Regions from separate parts of the Homo sapiens genome. Here regions 2, 3 and 4 are each linked to region 1. The links are contacts of gene promoters, found by promoter capture Hi-C in blood cells and fetal thymus (Javierre and others, 2016). All regions are on one chromosome and are shown on one strand. The core of a region is centred on a gene start or on the middle of the fragment in contact, and the rest is flanking DNA. Distances in the headings are between cores, read along the strand shown. Region 1 holds the start of TOM1L2 (target of myb1 like 2 membrane trafficking protein). Region 2 holds the start of PLD6 (phospholipase D family member 6). Region 3 holds the start of FLCN (folliculin). Region 4 holds the start of COPS3 (COP9 signalosome subunit 3).

Evidence for each region. Contacts are between HindIII fragments. The CHiCAGO score rates a contact against its expected background, and 5 or more counts as called.
Region 2: a contact is called between the fragment with the promoter of PLD6 here and the fragment with the promoter of TOM1L2 in region 1, in 2 of 17 cell types (naive CD8 T cells and total CD8 T cells). The highest score is 8.7, in naive CD8 T cells.
Region 3: a contact is called between the fragment with the promoter of FLCN here and the fragment with the promoter of TOM1L2 in region 1, in 8 of 17 cell types (fetal thymus, activated CD4 T cells, erythroblasts and 5 more). The highest score is 10.3, in fetal thymus.
Region 4: a contact is called between the fragment with the promoter of COPS3 here and the fragment with the promoter of TOM1L2 in region 1, in 7 of 17 cell types (total CD8 T cells, activated CD4 T cells, naive CD4 T cells and 4 more). The highest score is 8.4, in total CD8 T cells.

Annotation. Positions count from the first base shown.
Region 1 is chr17:17,970,363-17,973,649 of GRCh38, reverse strand. It overlaps TOM1L2 (target of myb1 like 2 membrane trafficking protein), which reads left to right and starts at 1,250. Exons shown (of 15, transcript NM_001082968.2): 1 at 1,250-1,388. The coding sequence starts at 1,337. DRC3 (dynein regulatory complex subunit 3) reads right to left here and starts at 788. Exons shown (of 14, transcript NM_031294.4): 1 at 676-788. RefSeq lists enhancers at 497-816, 1,188-1,757 and a silencer at 1,497-1,546. The HindIII fragment of the contact is 5,656 bases long and covers 483-3,287 here.
Region 2 is chr17:17,204,665-17,207,951 of GRCh38, reverse strand. It overlaps PLD6 (phospholipase D family member 6), which reads left to right and starts at 1,619. Exons shown (of 2, transcript NM_178836.4): 1 at 1,619-2,092. The coding sequence starts at 1,666. RefSeq lists silencers at 1,311-1,360, 1,401-1,650, 1,771-1,820, 1,841-1,960 and enhancers at 586-1,425, 2,481-2,600. The HindIII fragment of the contact is 11,264 bases long and covers 287-3,287 here.
Region 3 is chr17:17,235,523-17,238,809 of GRCh38, reverse strand. It overlaps FLCN (folliculin), which reads left to right and starts at 1,642. Exons shown (of 14, transcript NM_144997.7): 1 at 1,642-1,898. RefSeq lists a silencer at 696-881 and an enhancer at 1,316-1,425. The HindIII fragment of the contact is 3,806 bases long and covers 1-2,986 here.
Region 4 is chr17:17,279,444-17,282,730 of GRCh38, reverse strand. COPS3 (COP9 signalosome subunit 3) reads left to right here and starts at 1,485. Exons shown (of 12, transcript NM_003653.4): 1 at 1,485-1,599. The coding sequence starts at 1,545. RefSeq lists enhancers at 1,288-1,387, 2,038-2,097 and a silencer at 1,608-1,847. The HindIII fragment of the contact is 7,073 bases long and covers 1-3,287 here.

The DNA of each region.
Region 1 (3,287 bases), core at 1-2,500:
AAAATAAAAAATAAATAAATAAATAAATAATGAACAAAATTTTTCTTAAAAAAGAATAAAATCAATCACTTACTGAATGCTTACTGTGTGCTCAGTGCACATGCATTATTTAAGTACATGTAAGCTCCGGAGGCCATAAAAAGGGAGTCCTAATGCCCTTATTTCCCAGCTAGGGAACCTGAGGCTCCAGGGAGGTAAAGGAACTTGTCCAAAGTCGTACAATGAGTTACTGACAGAGACGGATACAGAACTTGAGTAGCCGTATTCACATCCAAAGCGGTATATACAGTACCAAGATGAAATCATTTGATAGTTATGAGGTCAGTTATGATGGCTAAATTCTGGGAAAAGTTATCAGTGGACCGGGTACCTCTCTTTCTATGAAAGGAGGCTGGAAGACGGAACCCCTTAAAAATCCATTCTGGCCCTGCTCCCTCGGGAAATGCTTCCTTAGTATTTTTTTTTTTTTTTATTCAAAAGCTTGACAAGCCCAGGACTAAAGTGTCTTGGCTGTCTCACACGACTGTAAAGTGGCTGGGAGAGGACCTACGTGCTCATTTTATAAATGAGAAGGGCCGGGCCGGCGTTCTCCGAGAAAAAGGTCACAGGAAAGAGTTACGTCGGGCACTATCTGTCCCTGCAAGTCCTCCGGGAGCCTCAGCTCCCAGGTCTCACCTTCTCAAGCGCTGGGAACTCGGCGGTTCCACGCAGCAGACGCGTCTCCCGGTTGCTGGGGAACCAAGCGCCGCGACTTGGTTGCTAAGGGGAAGTCAGAAGGGAGACATCCTGGGTGAAAGTTGACAAGTCACGTGACCACATCTCCGTGTGGTGAAACACTCCTTACACCAACCAGCCGTAGAGAAAACAAATGTTTCTCCAATCAGTACTTTCTATGGGCGGGGATATTCCTAGATTCACCTCTGTTCCGTCCATTTGCGTGATTGACTCGTCTTTTGTCCAATAATAGTAAGAATCCTTTAGATTGACCAATATACAGAGGAATCAAAATGCGCAGCTTCCCCTTTGGGGGCGGGCCAGGGGAGGTGCCGCCACGGCTGACAGGGACTCCGGTGACCTAGCTCGCTCCTCCGCCCAATCGGACGCTGCGGGGTGGGTGGGGGCTTTGCTGACAGAGGTGTAACGACCAATAGGAGGCGGGCTTCGTAGGTGTCCCCCAATAGAGACGCGGCAAGGGGGCGGGGCCAAAGGCCCTAAGCTCGGCGTTCCAGAGAGTGGGGAGGGGGCAAGTGTCAGTCAGGACGGGAGTCCGGCGGGTTACAGCGGAGGCCTAGGTGGCAGACAGGGGGCCCGGGCCGCTGCGTGTTGTCCACCCAAGATGGAGTTCCTCCTGGGGAACCCGTTCAGCACACCAGTGGGGCAGTGCCTCGGTAAGGCCGCGTGTGGGGCAGGAGGCTGGGCAACGGCGGCCGCTGATCCGGCTGGTGAGGACCGCGGGCCTCCGCCGGGCGCCGGTGCCACTTCACGAGCGGGCTGGGCCTCCGCCAGCCGCGGGTGCCACTCCACGAGCGGGCTGGGCATCCTGGTCGTCGGGCCTTTGCCGGGCGCTTGTGCCACCTCACGGGCGGGCTGGGCATCCTGGTCGTCTGGCCTTCACTGGGCGTCGGTGCCACCTCACGGGCGGGTTGGGCATCCTGGTCGTCGGGCGTTCGCCGGGCGCCGGTGCCACCTCCCGGGGGGGCTGGGCCTTCGCCGGGTGCCGGTGCTATCCCACGGGCAGGCAGGGCATCTGTGTCCTCGGGCCTCCTCCCGGGCACTGGTGCCACCTCACGGGCGCGCCAGTGCCACTCTGCCAGGAGGCACCCCTGAGGCCCAACTTGGACTCGGAGATGCCCCAGGCTTCCCTGCCCATCAAGGCTCAGCCCTTCCTTTTGCTGCTAGAGGTGGTGCCAACTGCTGGTCTGCTTCCCCAATGCGCTTTGGGAGATGCCACTGCATGTGTCTTTATCCAGCCCAGCAGGCTCACTGCCACTGCCCCAAGGACCCAGTTCTCCCAAACCCTTTGTGGGATGTCACCTTCTTCTCCATCTTTGTCCCTCCTCTTCGGTACCAGCAACCCTCAGACTGGGCACCCTCCCAGAAATGCCCCCTGCTCCGGGACTTGCTAATTTGAGCTGCAACTCAGCTGTGCTGTAGGAGGGACTGGGATAGGAGGAGGGGCTCTTGGAGGGTGATTATCTTGGCAGGGGGATGGCATGCCTGCAGTGCCTCCCAGGAAAGAAGGGAGGCTGTGTTATTTAATGATAAGAGCCCTGGACTGGGAATCATGGAAGCCTGGACTCTAGCAGTGGTTTTGTCAGTGACTCCATATGACCTTGTGCCCTTTCTGGTTTGAAGTTCCCCTGTCTGTCAAAGTGTTTGGAGATGAGATGTGATAGATCCCTTAAAGTTCTCAAGTTTTGATATTCTTTGTAGTACTCTGCACATTGACTGTTGCTTCCTCCCCCACCTCATATTAAGTTTACCAAAGCTGAAATCTTTTGTTGGCAATGTAGAGAGAATGGTACTCAGCATTATCTGTTAATCCTATAGGGGGGATGTGGACACCTGGGGACACCAGAGATGGCCAGAATCATGGATAAGGAAAGCCCAAAGTGTAGGTAAAGGAATACTGAAATGGCCACCATATGGGACTTCCTTACTAAGAAAGCAACTTGCCTTTTTACCCAAGGCAGTGGCTTATGCCACTTGATCAGTCAAGAATGCTGATTAGTTTGTTTGAAAACTGGATTCCTCCTGGTTGGTTGAAGGACTGGTAAAACGTCTTTTATGAGCCAGGATCTTTGGTGTTCTTATGGGCCTGATTTCAGCAGTAGTGATTTGTTTATTTTCTGCTTTGCTTATGAAATTTTAGCTTACTTTCCAGCCTTTAGTGGAGCCTATAAACTTATTGAGGTCTCTCCTGTTGGCTAATTAGCATTTAGGAGCCTTTCTTTACTTTCTGGCGTAGTATCTTTTATAATGCATGAGGGACCCCAAAAGAGTGTTTTCCCACCTTTTTGACATCTTGTCTCTTGCTGCCCACTGGAGAGTCTCTGGATTCTCACTTCCTTACTTCTTCCCCATGTCCTTTTCCACTCTCTTCAGGTGCTCTTGCATGGCAGCCACACTCCAAAAACTAATTTCCAGCCAGTTAATGGAGGGAGCCAGAAAACTTGCGAGAATTGTTTTCCTTTCTGTCCCCTTTATAATAGGAAGCTCTACACCTTTAAAATGACAAGGTAGTAAATGAGGGGTAGAAGTTAAAGGGGATTTAAAATACAAATGTG
Region 2 (3,287 bases), core at 370-2,869, 770 kb after region 1:
TGGCTCACTGCAACCTTAGTCTCCAGAGCTCAAGCGATTCTCCCACCTCAGCCTCCCGAGTAGCTGGGATCACAGGCACGTCAGCGCACTCAGCTAATTTTTGTATTTTTTGGTAGAGACAGTGTTTCACCATGTTGGCCAAGCTGGTTTCGAATTCCCGAACTCAAGCTGTCCTCCTGCCTCAGCCTCCCAAAGTTCTGGGATAACAGGCATGAACCACCGTGCCAGGCCACTTCATTCTATTTTATTGCTAAATAGCATTCCCTTGTACAGATATACAAAAGCTTATTTACCTGTTTACCTGCTGACGCCTTTTTGGGTTGTTCTAGGCACATACGCCTGCCAGGACACGTGCTTGTGTTAATGGATCCCGCCCTTTCTCCTAGGAGTGGGATAGCTGGATCATATGGAAGGTGCAAGTTTAATATTTTAATAAACTTTTAATTTAGAATAATTTGCTTTACAGAAAAGTTTCGAATATAGAACAGAGAGATCCATTTACCCCCACGCAGCTTCCTTTGTTAACCTTTTACATTCCTTTCATACATTTGTCAAAGCTAAGAAACTGACATTGGTACAATGCGATTAAGCTCCAGACTTTATTTGGCTCTCACCAGTTTTTCCGTGAATGTCTTCTTTCGGTTCCAGGATCCAGCCCAGACCACCACATTGCCCCGTTTCCCTATGCCCCCGGCCCAGTGCCCTCGGCTGCCTTAGTCTCTTCCTCTGTTTATGCTTAAAGCAGGGCAGGCCTTCCAACAACGCCGGCTGGAAAAAACCTCTTGGGCTAGGAAAAAACCTCTGGGCCGACACCGCCTCCAGTATGCTGGGTTCCAATGCTGCCTCCAGCTGTGTTGATTCCCTGATTATCTGTGTTCCCAGGTCATTCCCCAGCCCAGCCTAGCTGCTCCCGAGAAGACAGTGAAGGTGTGACCCCACATTTCCAGAGCAGCTCTGCTGTGCTCCATGCGAGGAAAGCCGGGGTTGCTGTGGCTTCTAGCGCGGAGAGCGGTCTCTGGCCTGGGCAGGTGACGGGTGTGCTAGGGCCCGTGGCCCGCGGGTGTGCAGGTGCTGCCTGGTGGCGCGGGCTTGGGGACGTGGCTTGGCACGTGGTGGGAGGTGGAACCTGGAGGGCGTGGCCGAGCGCCTGGCTGGAAGGAAAATGGGGGGCACAGCCTGGCGTTGGGGGGTGGAGGGTGTCTGTGGCAGGGGGCGTGGCCTGGCGCGTGGAGGGAGGCGTGGTCACCTGTTGAGGGTTGGGGGCGGGCTGATGGGAGGCGTGGGTTCAGCTTGGTGCGTGACAGTTGTGGGGGCATGGCGCGGCCTAGCGCGTGGCCCTCGGGGGCTGAGGGCGTGACCTTGCACGTGGCCGTTGGTGGGGCGTGACGGGGGCGTGGCCTGGCGTGTGGCCATGGGTGCTGGGCGTGGCCTGGCACGTGGCCTGGCACGTGGCCGTTGGCGCTGCGTGACGGGGGCGTGGCCTGGTGCGTGGCAATTGGCAGGACGTGATAGGGCGTGGCCTGGCGCGTGGCCATGGGGGGCTGGGCGTGGCCTGGCACATGGCCGCTGGCGGCGCGTGACGGGGGCGTGGCCTGGCGGTCTAGGGCTGGGGGCGCGCAGACTCCGCTGCGGCGGCGTGGCTGTGGGTCCCGGATTAGCGGCGGCATGGGACGGTTGAGTTGGCAGGTGGCGGCCGCGGCGGCTGTGGGCCTGGCTCTGACTCTGGAGGCGCTGCCTTGGGTGCTGCGCTGGCTGCGGTCCAGGCGGCGGCGGCCGCGGCGCGAGGCGCTGTTCTTCCCGTCTCAGGTGACCTGTACCGAGGCCCTGCTGCGGGCTCCGGGCGCGGAGCTGGCCGAGCTCCCCGAGGGCTGCCCGTGCGGCCTGCCCCACGGCGAGAGCGCGCTAAGCCGCCTGCTGCGTGCCCTGCTGGCCGCCCGCGCCAGCCTGGATCTCTGCCTGTTCGCCTTCTCCAGCCCGCAGCTGGGCCGCGCCGTGCAGTTGCTGCACCAGCGTGGGGTGCGAGTGCGGGTCGTCACCGACTGCGACTACATGGCCCTCAACGGCTCGCAAATCGGTCTGCTGCGCAAGGCAGGTAGGCCCGGCGGGGTCCAAGCGGAGAAGGCCGGCTTGGCCCACGCGGGGTCCTAGGCGCAAAGGTGGACACTTAGGGGAGGGGGTCTGGGGACGGGCTGAGGCCTCATTTACTTTCCTCGTGGCCTTGTGGGGTCGGGGTGGTGTAACGCGGAGAAAGCAGAGCCCCCACAGAAGGTCTAGCCGGCTGCGTGGGCATAAGCGAGCCGGACCCTCGGTGCCTCCGCGGTGGGGGCGGTTCTCTCAGTGAACTGTCCCGGCATGCTGGAAGCAGGTGGGCCTGCGTGTGCCGGGTTAGAGGCGGAGCAGATTCCCCTAGCAACTCCTCGGGCGCCGCCGGCGGAGTTTTCGTGACTGCTGCAGCCCGGGCCCGCCCTCCTACGCTGCCGGAGATCCCCGGACGGCCTCTGGTAACCTGGATCCTGGTGGCAGGGGAGCTGGACGCCAGGGTTGTGCTTGGACTTCCAGACTGAAGGGCTCTGGGGAGAGGCGGCCACCTGCTGCCCAGTGAATCTCAGGCCACTGGGCTCTGGGAGACCTGAACATGTTCTAGAAAGCAGCGCCAGGACATTCGGTTGTTTTCCCAGCTGCAAAAGGAGGGGAACACATATTTCTGGCGGGGGCGCCTCTCTCATGGGGTGGGGACAGAAGGGACCAGGAAATGTGAATAATTGGGATCCTTGTCCCACCTGAGGATTCTCAGTCCATCCTGGCCCAGTTCGGCGGCCCAGCCTGCTGTTGCCTTTTGTGTATCTGCACTCACAGACTCTTGGGCCTGTCTCTGTCTCCATCACTCAGGCACCCAGAAAGTCACGCCTGCACGTGCAACGGTTGGATCTGATAATACTGGTGGTCGCAGTGACCGAGAGATGTGTGGAGCCCTGGGAATTGTCCAGGCTGGGCAGTGGTCACCGCCGCGCTGTTCCTTCTGCACAGCCATAGCCTCTTGTTGACTTGGGCCTCAGAGCAGCCTCTCCAGAGTCAGCCAGGGTCCCTCCCTGCTCTGGGTGGTGTGGGGCATGTTGCACGCCATGTGGGAGCAGAGTGGGGCACGTGGTTTTCATATTGAGGATGTCTCCTTCTCTTTGGGGCAGCCACAAGAGCTGTCCTCCCATGTGTTGGTCATTTTAACGGGAGGTTTGGGGACCTCCAGGCATGCACAGTACAGTTCTGTTTGAGTTGCTTTTACAGTCGTA
Region 3 (3,287 bases), core at 393-2,892, 740 kb after region 1:
AAACACAAGCTGCACTTTCGTTCTTTTCTCGTGTCCCGTTTTCAACAGACCATGGATTTTTTTTTTTTTTTTTAGATGGAGTCTCGCTCTGTGCCAGGCTGGAGTGCAGTGGCACGATCTCAGCTCACTGCAACCTCTGCCTCCCGGGTTTAAGCAATTCTCCTGCCTCAGCCACCAGAGTAGCTGGGACTACAGGCGTGTGCCACCACGCCCAGCTAATTTTTTTTGTATTCTTAGTAGAGAGGGGGTTTCACCTGTTGGCCAGGATGGTCTCCATCTCTTTACCTCGTAATCCGCCCACCTCGGCCTCCCAAAGTGTTGGGATATTATAGGCGTGAGCCACCGCGCCCGACCAGAACATGGAAATTTAAAGAGAAAAAAATAAGTGACTTCTGATTTCAAAAACACAACCACCCACTTTTCTATTCTATTCCTGGTGAGCACATTCTGGAGACTCTGCGGCAACCATAGCCTCGGCCGCGGCGGAAGGCTCCGGGGCGGCCACACCTCAGGGGGCAGCCACACCTCAGGGGGCAGCGCGCACAGGCGGGTCAGGCTCTGATTCCCATCTCTCTCCGGTCTTCACTGGAAGGACCCACACTACATCACAAACTAATGGCTTTACAATTAACTTCTAAGTAGCTAAATTTAGTAATGGGCGCTCTAGTTTTAAAAAATATTATTCAGGCCGGGCGCGGTGGCTCACGCCTGTAATCCCAGCACTTTGGGAGGCCGAGGCTGGTGGATCACCTGAGGTTAGGAGTTCAAGACCAGCCTGGCCAAAAGGGTGAAAACCCGTCTCTGCAAAAATACAAAAAATTAGCCAGGCGTGGTGGCGGACGCCTGTAGTCCCCAGCTACTCGGGAGGCTGAGGCAGGAGAATCGCTTGAACCCGGGAAGCGGAGGTTGCAGTAAGGCGAGGTCGCGCCACTGGACTCCAGCCTGGGCAACAAGAGCGAAAGCGAAACTCTGTCTCAAAAAAAGAATATTATTCAAAAACTGATTTTCACATTTTTAAAAAAGACCCACTGAGGGAGGAAGACCGAATCCCACACATGCGCGCGCACAGCGGTTCCGAGTTCTGCAACCAACCTCCCACGGGCGCCGCGCCTTCTCCGCGTCACGTGACGGCCGTCTCCCGCACCTTCCATACTCTCAATGTAGGGAGAGGACGGGTTCCATCAGCAATTTAATAAAAACCATTGGTGAAGCAAAAAAAAAAAGCCTGCCAACCTCTTATAACGTTTTTTCTTTATTTTTCTCTTTTATGTGGACAGGAAGCCTTAGGTTGGCTATATTTACCCTCAAATCTCTTTTTAAAATGATTTTTAAGTTTCAGCATACTCCCGCGCTTAATGAAATGGTTTCCCCCAGCATCCCCAGCTGGTGCGGTCTGAACCATTCGGAACTTCCCAGAGGGGGGCACCGGAATAGGGGCGGTGGAAAAGGGTAATTGTCGGGCAGCGGCCCCTGCTTCCCAGTCAGACCTCGGAGTTGTAGGACTCGGACTGTGTTCCTGGGCTTGCGAGAGCTAGGGAGGCCCGGCTCTCCTCGCGGTGCAGGACGCGCTCGGACGGCTCCCGCACCCCCACCGCAGTGTTGGGTGGTGGTACGGCTCAGGGAGTCACGCGCCTGGGTGTCGGCGGGGCTGCGGGACCGCGAGTGAGTGTGGTCGCTCCTGGTTCTGCCAGCTCCCCTGAGAGCCTGAACCCGGGCTTGAGAGCCTCGCCACCCCGGGTGACATCCCTGCCGTGGGCTTGGGGGCTCTGGGTGTGATTCCGCCGGTCCGGGTCCCGCAGCGACCACCTACCCAGCGCAGTCAGGGGCGGGGCTGGGACCCAGAGCGGGACCCCGGCTGCCGAGTCCAGGTGTCCCGCGGGCCTCGATTTGGGGAGCAGGTAGGCGGGGGTCTGAGGGGTTGGCGGAGGGGCATGTCCGAGTTTTCGTTGGTCCCAGGTGGACGAGTAATGGGGGAGGGTTTAGGGCCAGAGTCCAGGGCGTCGCCGAGACCCTGAGATTTGAAGATAGGTTGGGGGCACGCCCATTAACCAAGTCTATGGGGATGAGGACTGTGATCTCATTTGATGTTGCCATGAAACGGGACTGTTTGCCTTCCCTTCTCCCAGGTTTTGTCTTCGCTCTGTTTGGAGGAGAGGGTGTGTGTCATCCTCTTCTCCCAGTTTGGCGTTCAGGAGGGTCCTCTGATGCGCTAATAGGGTAGCACCGTGTCCTCCAGGGAGGGTGGAAGACCGCGCTTCTCTCCAGTTGAGAGTACTGTCAGTCGCGTCCTTGTCTCCTGGAAAGAATGGATTGGCTTGTGGATTGAAGTCCAAGGTGTGGTCACTAGCAGTCTCTTCAAGTGGGGACACAGGGCAAGGAGGAGCTTGCTGGAAGTAGGTTCTGGCTCTCTAGCCTTTGGCCACAGCCAGTTTAGTGCCAGATTATCACCGTGGTCATCAAGTAATTGAGTAATAGTGGCAGGTGACACTGCGTTTGCCCTTCTAGTGTCCTATGTCAGGGAGCTCTGTGAATGGAAATCCAGGGAAACGGTGGAAATAGAGCCACAGTGAGAGTGGATCTGAACTGGCAGTCATCCCCTGCAGAACTTTTCACCCTGGGCTTGTTGGGATCCCAGCTGCTAACTTAATGAGGCTCCCCAGTGGGAGACTAGTTATAGAAGCTGTGTGTCCACTGCTGGTTAAGATCCGTTATAGTGCTTTGTTTATTTAGAGTGCCCTTACTTAGTGGCCTCTTTAATTCTCCACGGTGCTATGAGAACACCATAGGAAGTAGGGTTGAAATAGGGCCAGGGCGCACCACGGGTGGTGGTGAGGTCACTGTCCAGGTCTGGGACTCAGCCATTGTGGGAGGGGGACATGAACAGACACTCTACCACATCAGGGAATTTGAATACTGTCTTTGGATATGTTGATGAAGAGACTGTCAGCCAGGGCATTTCGGCTTCCTATGTGGGTTCTGGAAAGCTTGTTGGAAACAGACTCGTGAGACACACTCAAACCAGTTTGTTTTCTTCAGCAAACACCTGGTAGAGATTGGAATTGAACAGTGAGTGAAGAATGACCTCACGCTGCCCAGAATTCTGATTCCATGTGTAATGCGAATTCTGAGAGGCCTCTGTTTCTCAGCTTTTGGGTGGTATTCAGAGAGGTCTAGTAACACTTGGTGTCACCTGGCTGGTGAGGGCAGGCTCCGGTGACCGCAAAGCTAAGTGCTCTGTAGGGCACCTCCCTCTCTTTCAGGGGCTGCCTGGGCCTCTGGTGCACATG
Region 4 (3,287 bases), core at 236-2,735, 690 kb after region 1:
AATTTTAAAATGCATGTTTATTTTCTCAGTCCCTACTATGCAGCAAATCCTATGCTGGGCCCTAAAGGGGAACCAAGGTTAGTAAGAGAAATGCTTGACCTTAAGGAACTCCATGCCAGTTAGAAGCAATGGATCCGTAAACCAAAAGTATCTGAGACCAGTCTCAATCGAGAAAGTTTATATTGCCAAGGTGAAGGATGCGATGATAACACGGCCTCAGGAGCTCCTCAGGACATGTGCCCAAGGTGCGGGTACAGTTTGGTTTTATACATTTTAGGGAGACATGAGTCATCGATCAATACATGTAAGATGTACGTTGGTTAGGATCGGAAAGACGGGCTAACTCGGGGCAGTGGGGGGCTTCTACCTTATAGGTAGACTTAAAGATTTTTTGATTGGTAATTGGTTGAAAGAGTTATTATCTAAAGACCTGGAAGTAAATAGAAAGAAATATCTGGGTTATGATTATAAGGGGTTGTGGAGACCAAGGTTTTATCATGCAGATGAGGCTTCCAGGTAGCCTGCTATTCAGACAGAATAGATTGTAAATATTTCTTATCAGTCTTGAGTCTACCAGTCTTAAGGTCTCTGTGTTGATGTTTGTGAGGCATGTCTGACTACCACTTCCCATCATGGCCTGAACTAGTTTTTCAGGATAAATTGGAATGTCCTTGGCTTCAGATAGGGTCCACCAGTCAGTTGGGGGGCTTAGACTTTTATTTTTGGTTTACAGATATCACATGGACTATAGAGACACATTTCTGTAACAGAGTAGAAGTGCAACATGAGAAGAACAAAGTGCTTTAGGCGACAAGCGGAGGAGGGAGACATCAATCCCAGATGGGAAAAATCAATTCACTTTCTGTGTGTGGTGTTACTTATTTATTTATTTTTTGCAGGGAAGGGATCGATTCATTCAACGTACACCTTGAATGAATAACTATAGTTCTCCCTACGTCCTATGCACTGTCCTAAGTGTTTTACGTGGTTAAGGACACTAAGATTTTACAGATGGGGAAAACAATGCACACGACAGTCAAGTGACCCGCTCAACGTCACACAGCTACTAAGTGGTAGAAAAGGCAGTTGAACCCAGGCTGCTTGGCTCCAGAGTCTAATATCACGGGGAAAACCTCACGGGAGACGTGGCAACGAAGTTGTGCTTCATTGAAGTATCTGTCCAGGTGGAAAACCGCAGGGCCTCTCTAGCAAAATCCAGAACCAGAAAATACTTGCTTAATTATGAGTTTCCTTCCTTCTTTTGCCCACTATCCCCATTTAACCTGCGGAGGGATTTCAGAAGTGCAGTGAATAAAGATGCAGGGGACTATGGAACACTAATTTCCGGCTACGGCGAATTCAGGCTGTTTCCATGGAAACAGTAACGGGTGGGCAGCTAGGTATAGTCTCGCGGTGCTTGAACCAGCGGAAGTGACGTCGCCGCTCGCGAGGACCTCAGGTGGATCGCCGCGGCCCCTCCTCCCAGAGCGGCAGCCTTTTCCCGCGCGTGCTGCCTTCGCCGCTCGGGCCGCCCGGGGGAAAACATGGCGTCTGCCCTGGAGCAGTTCGTGAACAGTGTCCGACAGCTCTCAGCTCAAGGTAACGCCCTAGGCCGCCGGGCTGGGCATGGGCGGGTACCGGGAACTGGCCTGGATCCCCAGGCGCCAGCACGGACGGCTGGAACAGCCCTTTTAGTCCTGAGACTCTTCTCCGGGGCCGGGCTTGGGGTTGCGGCGTTTAGATCAGGGCAGGATCGAGCGCGGCCGAGTGTAGGCAGCCCCCTCGCGCTCCGCTGTCCTCGCCGGCCGGCCTCCCCTCCCTCGGGCCGCCGGGAGCCCCCTCCCCCCGGCCTGGGCCCCTTCCACCGGGCGCTTTGCTTGACAGTTTGGGGGCGTGACTTCCGCCAGGAGCCATCTCGGGCGACTATTGGTTCCTTCTGTCTCTCTTGCCTTCGGTGATTGGCGCACCGCCATGTCATCTTTGCCGCCGATCCGCAGCTTGCTGACTAGGCCGCCGGGAGCGGGCGGGAGGCGAGTCCGTTCTGGGTGTCTTGGCTCTATGGCTCGCCTCTGCCAGCTCCTCCGCTGCCAGGCGGCGCACGCTCGGGAACCTGTGCGCCTATTTTGGTCCTACAGAATGCTGCGGAAGCTCTCGCTCGTAGGACTCCATTTCTTCTTCTTTGTTTTTTTTTAGCCGAGGCTGGAGTGCAGTGGCGCGATCTCGGCTCACTGCAACCTCAGCCTCCCGGCTTCAAGCGATTCTCCTGTCTCAGCCTCCCGAGTAGCTGAGATTACAGGCGCCCGCCAGCTCACACGGCTTTTTTTTTTTTTGAGACGGAGTCTCACTGTCTCCCAGGCTGGAGTGCAGTGGCGCGGTCTCGGCTCACCTCAACCTTCGCCTTCGAGGTTCAAGCGATTCTCCTGTCTCAGCCTCCCGAGTAGCTGGGATTACAGGCGCCTGCCCGGCTAATTTTTGTATTTTTAGTAGAGACAGGGTTTCACCATGTTGGCCTGGCTGGTCTCGAACCTTGATCTCAGGTGATCCACTGGCCTCGGCCTCCCAAAGTGCTGGGATTACAGGCATGAGCCACCGCGGCCAGCCCACGCGGCTAATTTTTTCGTATTTTTAATAGAGATGGGGTTTTTACCATGTTGGCCAAGCTGGTTTCGAACTCCTCACCTGAAGTGATCCGCCCACCTCGGCCTCCCAAAGTGCTAGGATTACAGGCGTGAGCCACTGCGCCCGGCCAGGACTCCATTTCTAGGGGTAGAATTGTGATGATTTTACTCGCACTTTCCAGGTTGTTTGGTTCATTCATTGCGTATGAATGTACCGAATTCTGGACCTGAAATTCGAATGATTAGATGCTGGCTGTGAAGGCCCTTTTAACTATCCCGTGCTTCAGTTTCTTCGTCTGCAAAATAAGTCCCTAGTTTATGTAGAGTTGTGAAGATTCAATGAGAGAAACCATGTAAAAGCAGTTGGAACAGTGCCTGTCATAAGGGGTGCAATAAATATAGCTGCAAATTATTGTTACCGTCATTAATTGCAAAGTTCTAGGAGCTGCTTGACCTTGGACAAATAACCTTTAATCTCTGAGTCTTTTGCATCTCCATTGTAAAAATGGAGGGGTGCTTTTACCTCACTGGTGTAAGACAAATGGTCTGATATGGAGCTGCACTTAATAAGAATTCTTCCTCTTTTTCCTTTTTATTAATAGAAATGAGGTTCACAGGGAAGGCACAGGCTTGCCTTTTCTATGAATAAAGGAACCACTGGTTTGTTAA